Regions from separate parts of the Homo sapiens genome. Here all the other regions are linked to region 2. The links are contacts of gene promoters, found by promoter capture Hi-C in blood cells and fetal thymus (Javierre and others, 2016). All regions are on one chromosome and are shown on one strand. The core of a region is centred on a gene start or on the middle of the fragment in contact, and the rest is flanking DNA. Distances in the headings are between cores, read along the strand shown.

The links. The method cuts DNA at HindIII sites, captures the fragments that hold promoters and counts their contacts. A CHiCAGO score of 5 or more calls a contact.
Region 1: the fragment with the promoter of MIGA2 here is called in contact with the fragment with the promoter of TOR1A in region 2 in 4 of 17 cell types (naive B cells, monocytes, total B cells and 1 more); the score reaches 6.7 in naive B cells.
Region 3: a fragment that was not itself captured here is called in contact with the fragment with the promoter of TOR1A in region 2 in 3 of 17 cell types (fetal thymus, naive CD4 T cells and activated CD4 T cells); the score reaches 6.0 in fetal thymus.
Region 4: a fragment that was not itself captured here is called in contact with the fragment with the promoter of TOR1A in region 2 in 2 of 17 cell types (naive CD8 T cells and naive CD4 T cells); the score reaches 5.2 in naive CD8 T cells.

Annotation. Positions count from the first base shown.
Region 1 is chr9:129,035,364-129,038,114 of GRCh38, forward strand. MIGA2 (mitoguardin 2) reads left to right here and starts at 1,263. Exons shown (of 16, transcript NM_001329990.2): 1 at 1,263-1,318. RefSeq lists a silencer at 1,248-1,377 and an enhancer at 1,718-1,847. The HindIII fragment of the contact is 1,706 bases long and covers 1,139-2,751 here.
Region 2 is chr9:129,822,753-129,825,452 of GRCh38, forward strand. TOR1A (torsin family 1 member A) reads right to left here and starts at 1,384. Exons shown (of 5, transcript NM_000113.3): 1 at 1,156-1,384; 2 at 1-94. The coding sequence starts at 1,333. RefSeq lists a silencer at 769-858 and an enhancer at 1,269-1,578. The HindIII fragment of the contact is 11,037 bases long and covers 1-2,700 here.
Region 3 is chr9:129,134,994-129,137,693 of GRCh38, forward strand. PTPA (protein phosphatase 2 phosphatase activator) reads left to right here. Exons shown (of 10, transcript NM_178000.3): 7 at 1,478-1,602; 8 at 2,599-2,699. Among named protein-coding and RNA genes, the nearest start is that of PTPA, 25 kb to the left of the region's middle. The HindIII fragment of the contact is 5,800 bases long and covers 1-2,700 here.
Region 4 is chr9:129,118,360-129,121,224 of GRCh38, forward strand. It overlaps PTPA (protein phosphatase 2 phosphatase activator), which reads left to right. Exons shown (of 10, transcript NM_178000.3): 2 at 2,154-2,251. Among named protein-coding and RNA genes, the nearest start is that of PTPA, 8.4 kb to the left of the region's middle. The HindIII fragment of the contact is 9,099 bases long and covers 1-2,865 here.

The DNA of each region.
Region 1 (2,751 bases), core at 13-2,512, 790 kb before region 2:
CTCCCAAGTAGCTGGGATTATAGGTGTGTGCCACCACGCCCAGCTAGCTTTTTTATTTTTAGTAGAGACCGGTTTTCACCATTTTGGCCAGGCTGGTCTCGAACTCCTGACCTCATGTGATCCACTCACCTCAGCCTCCCAAAGTGCTGGGAATAGAGGCATGAGCCACTGCTACCGGCCGACGATTACAATTTTAAAACGTAGTTGTGCCCAGCTCTTCGCAGTTATGGAAGGGCTGATACACCGTCCTCTTTCCATCCTCACCAAAGCCCTATGATTTGGGAAAGGGAAGATTTTATCCCTATTTCTTTTTTTCTTTTTGAGACGGAGTCTCGCCCTTTGGCCCAGGTTGGAGTGCAATGGGTGGATCTCAGCTCACTGCAACCTCTGCCTCCCGGGTTCAAGAGATTCTCCTGCCTCAGCCTCCTGAGTAGCTGGGATTACAGGTGTGTGCTACCAAGCTTGGCTAATTTTTTTTTTTAATCTTTAGTGGAGACAGGGTTTCACCAGGTTGGCCAGGCTGGTCTCGAACTCCTGACCTCGTGATCCACCCACCTCGGCCTCCCAAACTGCTAGGATTACAGGCGTGAGCCACCGCGCCCGGCCTCATCCCTATTTCATAGAGGGGTAAGCTCTAGAGAGCTGAAGTGGCAACACTTGATTCTATCTCAGGTCGGCCTGATCTCAATCCTGGTATTTAGTGTAAGACCCAGATAGGTGGCCAGAACTGAAGACCCCTTGACTCCAGCTCTCAGAGAGACACTGTCTAGCGGCGAGACCTGGCACTTTTGCAAACAACTCCAGAACAAGGGGGAGAGTGGCGACAGTATAAGAGCATGCTGCGGGAAGTCAGGGGCGGTAGTATTTGAAAATGGGCGCTTGGAGAGTGGGAAGGATTTGTCCTTGTGTGGAACAAGAATAGAGGATCCTAATACGAGGGCTCAGCCTGCTTTGGCGTACTCCAAGAAAGCCCCTTGGAGGTCTGACTGCTCCGCTTCAGCCCCTTTAAGAATGGCCCCGCCCCACCCAGCCGCCCATGTCGATCTAATCTGAATGACCAATAGTAGAAGAGAAGAGACCACTTTCGCGCTTCAACCGCACTAGGAGGAGGGGAAGAGGGCGGGAGAGGCGGAATATAAGCTTGGTCACATGACCCGCCTAATTGGCCAGAGGCTGCGGCGGCCCTGAGAGACTCAGCGATGCTCATTGGCCAGAAGAGGGTGGGGGCTTGGCGCTAGGCCACGCCCCCGGGCGGCCGGTTTGGTTGCGCAGCCGCCGGGGAAGGAGACGCTGCCCTTCCGCAGCGATGGCATCCCGGGTGAGTATCGGCCCCGGCCGAGCCCCCAAGGCGGGCGGGCAGCGCGGCAGGGCCGGGACTTGAGCGGAGGACCGAGTAGGCGCAGGTGTCCGGGCCCAACAGGACCAGGAAGGTGTCGGGGTTGGAATGAGTGGGTACCCGGGCCGGGGACGGTGCGAGAGGGTGCCTTGCTTGGGAGCGGAACGAGAAGGTACTTGGGTCAGGGAGGTGATGCCCGGGCCTGGAACGTGGCGGGGATTGGAGCAGGCGCGCAGGTACCCGATCCGAGGCGGGGAGAGCACCCGGGATGGAAGGAGCAGGCGTGCGGGCCGTGAGCGGCGCCAGAGGGTACCTGGGTGAGTTTCAATGATATTCCGGGGTGGGGGCAAGAGAAGAAGGGGCTGCCCAAGATGCCTGGGGTGGAGTGAGCAATTTCTGAAGACGGGGATATTGCTGAGGTCCAACGCGGGGATGCCCGGTGCCCGGCATGGTGGGACTATTGAGGGGTCCGGCATGGGGTGAATAGGAGACTGGGCAGAGTGGCTCAAGGGAGTCGGGGACGTTGTTGGGGTCCAGACGGAATGAGTGAGTGCACAGGCCAGAGTCATTAGTGGGGTGGTCTAGCGCAGGGGAGGAGGCGCGTAGGATGATATGCTTAGGCACCCAGGCTGAGGGTGCTGTAAGTGCTGTGGTGACGGTGGAATGAGGAGGTGTCCGCCTAAGATTGTAGGGCACAAGAGATGGCTGCCCAAGTGGGGCCAGGCCCTACACAGCAGTAGAAGTGTCCATTTGGTAGGGGACCTTGCCGTGGGCTTTTCATTGTGGAGAGGAGGTGGAGGGGTCTCAGCTTAGGCCCTGGAGGACGGACAGGGTGCCAGGGGGACGGACACAGTGTGGGTTGACTGGATTTGGATCCATCCCTGGAGTGAAGCAGGCTTGGGGGCTGGTGATGTTACCTCGCACCTGCAGGCTCTGCCTCCCAGTGGGGACAGCAGGGGCTGCTCTGGACTCTCCCGCAAACAGTGGGCCTCAGTCACCCCTGTAGCGTTTATTTGTTCAGGCTCATCTTTAACACCATGTGGGCTTCTCACTTGGGGGCCCAGAAGTCCTACAGTTGTGGCCTGGAAGGAGCAGTGGCAGTTGTAGCAGGCAGAAGCTGGGAAACCCTGCCACAGCCTTGAGATCCCCCAGAGCTTGGCCGCTTAGTACTCGGTGACCTCAGGCAGGCTGCCTCATCTCAGAGCCTCCGCGTTTCCCCATCCTTGAGATAAACATTGGCCATTGCGAGGGTTCTGAGAGGACTGGACCCAAAGCCTGTCGTGGAGAGCCTGTTCTGGATCTGGCCTGGAATAAGAGCTTGGGAAATAGTAGCTGCTGGCCCTCTGATGTTCTTGTCTTCCCTCTTTCTGAGACCTGAGCCAGCCTGGGGTTGGGGTGAAGGGTAGGGGGACGTG
Region 2 (2,700 bases), core at 134-2,633:
TTTGGGTTGTTTATGAAACCAAACACGGCATTTAAGATGATTTTCTTTGCAAGATGCTGTCCAAAGAGGTTGTCGTCCAGATCCTTCTGCAGTGCTGGGAAAGACAAAGCCAATCAGGAGTGGGGAAGAAACAGCGGCAAAATGTAGCCACATTTACAGCCCATAAGAAAGCCAGCAAAGCCGTCTAGACGCCCTCCAAGCACCTTGCGAAACCTCAAGTACTGCGGTCTGTAAGCTCCTGGCCCAGAGGGGACGGCGGTCCAGGGAGCCCTCCCTTTGCTGGTCCTGCCTATTCTAAAGCCCTGGCCCGACTCCTTCCCGAAAAGCCCCTTGGTGCCACTGCCACTGCCACCAGTTTGCACCCCTAACCCCTGTGCTGCTCCTCCCACCCCAAGGCAGAGCCGGGAAAGGAAACAGTTTGGTCCCTCCTGGTCGGCTGCGGAAGAGTCCTCACCATCCTTCCTGTCTCCCGCTAGGCTAGAAAGGAGGCAGAACCCACTTCGGAGGGAGGTTACCACTGGTCCACCCCCAGCTTAGCGCAAAGTAGGCCAACCTGCAGCCTGGCTCCTCAGGTCTCCGACTTAAGTCTGGCACGTCTGTGGTCATGGCCGAGGAGCCAGGCCTCATCCTGCAGGCCGGCCGCTTGGCTTCCGGGGTCCGGCCCCCGCGGACTCAGCTCTGCCCAGGCCCGGCCCTCCTGGGATGTGACCCCTACCCCGGCCTGGCCCTAGTGCCATCCCCCAGCCCCAGCCCCAGCCCCAGCCCCCGCTCCTGAGCCCCAGCCCCCAAACTCCGCTCCAGCCCCAGTCCTAGCCCGGCCCTACTGCCATCCCCCAGCCTCCATCCACCATCCTCAATCCCCTAGCCCCAGCCAACCGCCCTGGTCTTAACCCAGCCCTAGTGCGATCCCCCAGCCCCACCCCCAGCCCCCGGGCCCCGCTCCATCCCCCAGCCCCAGCCCCAGCCCCAACCCGGCCCTAGTGCCATCGCCCAGCCCCAGCCCCCAGGCCCCGCTCCAGCCCTAGTCCTAGCCCGGCCCTGGTGCCATCCCCCGGCCTCCATCCTCCATTCTCCATGCCCTGGTCCTAGTTCAGCCCTAGTGCCATCGCCCAGCCCCAGCCCCAGCCCCAGCCTCCAGCCCCCGCCCCAGCCTACCCTCCCGGCTAAGGCTCCGCTTCTGCCCGCAGCACTCGGCGAAGAGGCAGTAGAGACGCGGGTAGATGTAGCCGGTGAGGACGCCGGCCAGGGCCAGTCCCAGGCTGATGGGCTCCACCGCCTGCACCACGGACGGCGCCAGCAGCAGCAGGCCCAGCACGGCCCGGCCCAGCTTCATGCCCGGACCCGCGCCACCCTGCTTGTTCTCGCGCCGACCGCGAACCGGTGCAGCCGCCAGACCCACGCTTCCGGTTCCTCCTCTCGCGGAGGCCATCTTTCTTCAGGGCAGCCCTCCTCCCGACGCCGGCGGCCGCCATCTTTGTTCGGTACAAAGCCCTGTTTTGCTTCCGGAAACTCGGTTCTGCTCCGCCCCTGTTGGCCACGTGTTTTTGTTTATGGACGTTATTTTTGCCAGGCATGGTGGCTCCTGCCTGTAATCCCAGCCCTTTGGGAGGCTGAGGCGGGCGGATCACCTGAGGTCAGGAGTTCGAGACCAGCCTGACCAACATGGTGAAACCACGTCTCTACTAAAAATATAAAATTAGCCGGGTGTGGTGGTAGGCACCTGTAGCCCTAGCTACTGGGGAGGCTGACACATGAGAATCGCTTGAACCCAGGAGGCGGAGATTGCAGTGAGCCGAGATCTCACCACTGCACTCCAGCCTGGGAGACAGAGCAAGACTGTGTCCCCTCCCCGCAAATAATAATAATAATAATAATAATAATAACGGACGTTATTTTTTAGAACAGATTTACAGAAAAATTGAGAAGATAGTAGAGAGTTCCCATGTGCCACCCATCCCTGCAATTTCCCCTATTACTAAAATCTTACATTATTAGTGTGCTACATTTGTTAAAATTAACGATGCACTGTTGTCATATTAACTAAAGTGTAGTTTATTCAGATTTCCTTCCTTTTACTTAATGCCTTTTTCTGCTGCAGGTTTCCATTCAGGATACCACATTATATTTCGTTGTCATGTCTTAGACTACTGTTAATGACAGTGTCTCAGCCTTTTATTTTTATTTTAGCTGGAGTGCAGTGGCATGATCTCAGCTCACTGCAACCTCTGCCTCCCAGGTTCAAGCGATTCTCCTGTCTCAGCCTCCTGAGCAGCTGGGATTACAGGCACACACCACCATGCCCGGCTAATTTTTGTATTTTTGGTAGAGACGGGGTTTCACCATGTTGGCCAGGATGGTCTTGATCTGACCTCATGATCTGCCCGTCTCAGCCTCCCAAAGTGCTGGGATTACAGGCGTGAGCCACCGCGCCTGGCCTCAGCTTTTTATTTTTGATGACCTTGATAGTTTTGAGGAGTACTGGCCAAATCTTTGGTGGGCTGGCCCTCTATTGGGATTTGATGTTTTTCTCAGGATTAGACAAGCGTTATGGCGTTTTGGAAGGAAGATCACAGAGGTAAAGTGCTATGCTCATCACATCCTACCAAGGAAGGGTTCTTACTGTTCAACGTTACTTACCACTGTTGGTGCTGACTTGATCACTTGACTGAAGTAGTGTTTGTCAGGTCCCCCCACCCCTCT
Region 3 (2,700 bases), core at 119-2,618, 690 kb before region 2:
CTCATGGTTCTCTTGTCCTGTCCTAATCAAGCTCTGGCTGTGGATGGAGTGTCCAAGCCTTTTTTCCAACAGGTTCAAATTAACCTCCAAGTAAAAGCAAGTGAAAGAATTGTCACATAGGCCGGGCGCGGTGGCTCACGCCTGTAATCCCAGGACTTTGGGAGGCCCAGGCAGGCGGATCACGAGGTCAGGTGTTCGACACCAGCCTGGCCAACATGATGAAACCCCGTCTCTACTAAAAATACAAGAATTAGCTGGGCGTGGTGGCACTCGCCTGTAATTCCAGCTACTCAGGAGGCTGAGGCAGAAGAATTGCTTGAACCCAGGAGGCGGAGGTTGCAGTGAGCTGAGATCGTGCCACTGTACTCCAGCCTGGGTGACAGAGTGAGACTCTGTCTTAAAAAAAAAAAGAATTGTCACATAATGTCTGCCAGTATTGACACAGTGTTGACCATATGGAGGAAGAATTCTAAGCACTTTATGTATAACTCATTAATTCTAACAACAACCCTATGAAATAGCAACTGTTATTTCCATTTTACATATGAGGAAACTGAGGCACAGAGATATCCGGTGTCTTCACTGGGTTCACGCCAGCTGAACCCAGGTAGTCAGACTCTGACCTGCTGCCCCACACCACCCAAGCCAGTCGCTGGGCAGCACTGATGTGGATCAGTTACCCAGAGCTCTTAAAATCCCCATTGCGGGCCCCAGTCTAGCAGTGCTGCTGCAGCAGGCCTGTGACGGAGCCCAGGAGCAGTGCTCGATGCTTCACAGGTGGTTGATATGCAGCCTCTGATAATATAGAAGGTTGGAACCAGAAGAACCTAGGAGATAACCTGCTGGGACTTGTGTTAGCTTTCAGACAGGCCAACTGAGGCTGGAGAGGCTGAGGCCCTGCCCAGGGTTTTACAAGTTGTCAGGAGTTGATGGCACCAAAACCCACCTTCCTAATCAGTGATTTTTTATTTATTTATTTGTTTATTTTTTTTGAGACAGGGTCTTGCTCTGTCGCCCAGGCTGGAGTGCAGTGGAGAGATCTCGGCTCACTGCAAGCTCTGCCTCCTGGGTTCATGCCATTCTCCTGCCTCAGCCTCCAGAGTAGCTGGGACCACAGGCGCCCACCACCACACCTGGCTGATTTTTTGGATTTTTAGTAGAGACGGGGTTTCACCGTGTTGGCCAGGATGGTCTCGATCTCCTGACCTTGTGATCCGCCTGCCTCGGCCTCCCAAAGTGCTGGGATTACAGGCGTGAGCCACCGTGCCCGGGCCCTTAATCAGTGATTTTTATGCCTTTCCTGAGCCAAAAGATGGCTGAGTGTTTGTTGGGGGAAATAAAGCTACATTATTGAAATTGAGACCAGTTAACACTCTTCAGTGGTTATTTTGGGGTCTCCTTGTGCTCCCAGTGGCCGAAAGGGTGAGACTGTCTTTTTACTTTTTGCTACCTTCCCTTTCCCTGTCCTCCTGTGCAGGTACCTTGAGGTTATGCGGAAACTCCAGAAAACATACAGGATGGAGCCAGCCGGCAGCCAGGGAGTGTGGGGTCTGGATGACTTCCAGTTTCTGCCCTTCATCTGGGGCAGTTCGCAGCTGATAGGTACTAGAGCGGGAGGTGCCTATCCCTCCACCCCCAACCAAGGCTGCGTTCTGTGGCCCTCCCCTGCCCCTCCTGCGCTCCCTCCTTCCCTTCTTCCTGCCCAGGGCAGACAGTGACAGCTTGGAAAGCAGGGCATTAGACCAGCTATTGAGGGAGGCTGTTTACTGTCGACCTTCTGCTGTGAGAGCCCGTGTGGTGGGCTGGAGGAGGCGGAGGCCAAGCGCCACCAAGATAATGGGAAGTGACATGGGCTGGAGCAAGGGCGCACGCCTGGTGCATAATGGACTGGTGTGAAATGCGCCCCAGCTCCTGGCAGCAGCTGTGGGGTTTTATGTTGAAAATGAGGGACCCTTTTGATTTGGTGACCAGTGTCATCCACTGTTATTATCGAGCTGTGTGCAAAGGGGCCCGTTAGGGAGCAGCCGCCAAGTGCTGGGTGGTGGGCCTGCTTCCTGTGGGGCTCAGAGAGGCCTGCTCTGGTGACTCCCCAACTCTTGAAGCTAGTTTTCAGGATGGGCGTAGGTGATCATCTCTATTTTGATGAAGAATGAACTGCCTACAGACTGATATTCATAAATGACCATTAGTTGTGGCCTCGGGTGCATTGCCTCCCCGAATCTTCTCAGTGACACTGCGAAGGGTCTGCCAGCATGAAGCCGGCTCTGCTGACTGGCACCTGCACCAGGCACCATACTGAGTGCTGTAGGTGTGGTAATTGTTGTCATGGCCCCTAGGAGGAGGTGCTCTTCTTGTCCCCAGTGTCCAGGTGAGGAAACTGAACCTTGGCAGGCTGAAGTCATGCGTCCAACGCCATGCAGCTAGAGCTTAGCACATTAGAATACACAAACCCAGAGTTACTTATTGCTCCTTCAAGGTGAGGTGTTGAGGGCACCACGGGCAGGACTGAGGCCCCTGGGGGGGTGTGACTGCTGGGCCGGGTTGCCCAGGTAGTCGTGGGGCCTGGTTCTGAATGCTGGGGCCCATTCCTTTTCCCAGACCACCCATACCTGGAGCCCAGACACTTTGTGGATGAGAAGGCCGTGAATGAGAACCACAAGGACTACATGTTCCTGGAGTGTATCCTGTTTATTACCGAGG
Region 4 (2,865 bases), core at 176-2,675, 700 kb before region 2:
TTGTTTCTAATTAATAAAAAATTTTTTTATTTGAGTCAGAGTTTCACTCTTGTTGCCTAGGCTGGAGTGCGATGGCACGATCTTGGCTCACTGCAACCTCTGCCTCCTGGTTCAAGCAATTCTCCTTCCTCAGCCTCCCAAGTAGCTGGGATTATAGGCATGCGCCACCACACCTGAATAATTTTATATTTTTAGTAGAAATGGGGTTTCACTATGTTGGTCAGGCGCATCTCCAACTCCTGACCTCAGGTGTGATCCACCCACTTTGGCCTCCCAAAGTGCTGGGATTGTAGGCATGAGCCACCGCGCCCCGCCTAAAATTTTTTTTTTTTTAAAGTAGAGATGGGGTCTCGCTGTGTTGCCCAGGTTGGTGTCAAACTCCTGGACTCAAGTGATCCTCCCACCTGGGGCTCCCAAAGTGCTGAGATTACAGGTGTGAGCCACTATGCCCAGCTTTTTTTTTTTTTTTTGATGCATTAAACACCTTTGTGTTTCCGTGAGCACATCTGAAAGATAGATTCCTGTAAGTAGACCTGTTGACTCATTGTGTATATGCAGTTTTTTATTCCAAAAGATTGTCCCCTTAGGAGGTCCTTCCCACCCACAGAGCGGGAGAATTCTTGTTTCCTCTTCCTGGAATCTTGTTTTGTTTTTATTGAGACAGAGTCTCGTTCTGTTGTCCAGGCTGGAGTGCAGTGGTATGATCTCAGCTCACTGCAACCCCCACCTCCTGGACTCAGGTGATCCTCCTGCTTCAGCCTCCCAAGTAGCTGGGACTACAGGTATGCAACCACACCCAGCTAATTTTTAAATTTTTTTTGTAAAGATGGCGTTTTGCCAAGTTGGCCAGCCTGGTCTTGAACCCCTGGCCTCAAGTGATCTGCCTGCCTTGGCCTCCCAAATTGCTGGGATTAGGTATGAGCCACCACACCTAGCCAGATGTTTTTAATTTGCCAACCTTATCCAGAAAGAGAAATCACATATAATTTACGTGTCCGTGCTTATTCAGGAGGTTGGCAATTTATTCCAAATGTTTACTGCAATTAGGTTTTTTTTTTTTTTTTGAGACGAAGTCTCGCTCTGTTGCCTGGGTTGGAGTGCAGTGGTGCAATCTCGGCTCACCACAAGCTCCGCCTCCCAGGTTCACGCCATTCTTCTGCCTCAGCCTCCCAAGTAGCTGGGACCGCAGGCGCCCGCCACCACGCCTGGCTAATTTTTTTGTACTTTTTTAGTAGAGATGGGATTTCACCATGTTAGCCAGGATGGTCTCGATCTCCTTACCTTGTGATCTGCCTGCCTTGGCCTCCCAAAGTGCTGGGATTACAGGCGTGAGCCACCGCACCTGACCTGTTTTTTTTTCTTCTGTGAATTGCCTGTGTATGTCTGAAACATCAACTTGGTTTTATTTTTCTAACGGTTCTGCTCTGGGGGGGAGAGGGAAGGGAGGGCATGGTTATTGAAGGGATTGTCAGTATTGCCCTTCTCTTTCCTCCCCAGAGTGAGGGAGGGCAGGAGGCTGTGGGTTTGGCTTAACAAGCCCTTACTCTGTCCTGGAAGTATGTGTCTGGTTTATTCTAAGGCTCAGGTGTTGGAGTCCTGGTTTAAAAGTGAGAGAGAGGCCGGGCGCTTTGGCTCATACCTGTAATCCCAACACTTTGGAGGCCAAGGCGGGTGGATCACCTGAGGTCAGGAGTTTGCGATCAGCCTGGCCAACATGGTGAAACCCCGTCTCTACTAAAAATGCAAAAATTAGCTAGGCATGGTGACATACGTCTGTAATCCCAGCTACTCAGAACACTGAGGCAGGAGAATCGCTTGAACCCGGGAGGCAGAGGTTGCAGTGAGCTGAGATCGCGCCACTGCACTCCAGCCTGGGCGACAGAGCGAGACTCTGTCTCAAAGAAAAAAAAAAAAATTAGCTGGGTGTGGTGGCACGTGCCTGTAATCTCAGCTACTCAGGAGACTGAGGCAGGAGAATCGCTTGAACCCTGGAGGTGGAGGTTGCATTGAGCCAAGATCGTGTCACTGGACTCCAGCCTGGGCAACAAGAGCAAAACTCCGTCTCAAGAAAAAAAAAAAAGGTGAAAGGGAGTGTGTGTGTTGTAGGGGAGGATTCTATTTATCTGTTTGTTTTTTCATTTTTTTTTGTCAAGATTCTTCAGAGGAGGCCCCTCCAGCCACTCAGAACTTCATCATTCCAAAAAAGGAGATCCACACAGTTCCAGACATGGGCAAATGGAAGCGTTCTCAGGTACCATTTGGAACTGTGGTGAGAAACTTGGGCTTTTCAAAGACAGTGGTTTTCCTAGCATGACGGGCGGTGAGTTCCTGGCCCTTCTTGCTCTTGGAGCCTGACTTTTCAGAAGCTAGGGAGAAAGGTGACAGGGGAGCTGGCTGTCTCTTCCCTTCAGAGGCAGTACTCAGAGATGCTTTATCAGGAAGGTTGCCTACTTTTTCAGGCTGCTGCCAGGGTAGCCCGGGAGAGTTCCGCTCCTGGTTCTCTTAAGCCATTGCCCCTTGAGTGTTGCTGTATTGGCTGAACATGAGTGTTTGAAATGATGGAGCGAGTCACTTTGATTCTTGGCTGCAAGTAACAGCAAGTGTGGCAGCCAGTGCCTCAAGGGGAGAAGAGGCTATCTCATGGAAACTTTGGCCAGGGATATGGCTAAGCCTGCAAATACCTGGGAGCTGGGACCCAGAGCACTGGGCACAGACTGGCTTTCTCTGCTGCTCAGCTGAAATGATGGGCAGAAGATAACTACTTGTACCTCTCAGGCTTGTGGTACAGGCTGTGGAAAGACAGACTGAGCAAAAGAAAGCCAATTTCAATTTCTCAGGGAAGGCCTCTGGCCCAGTTCTCGTCAG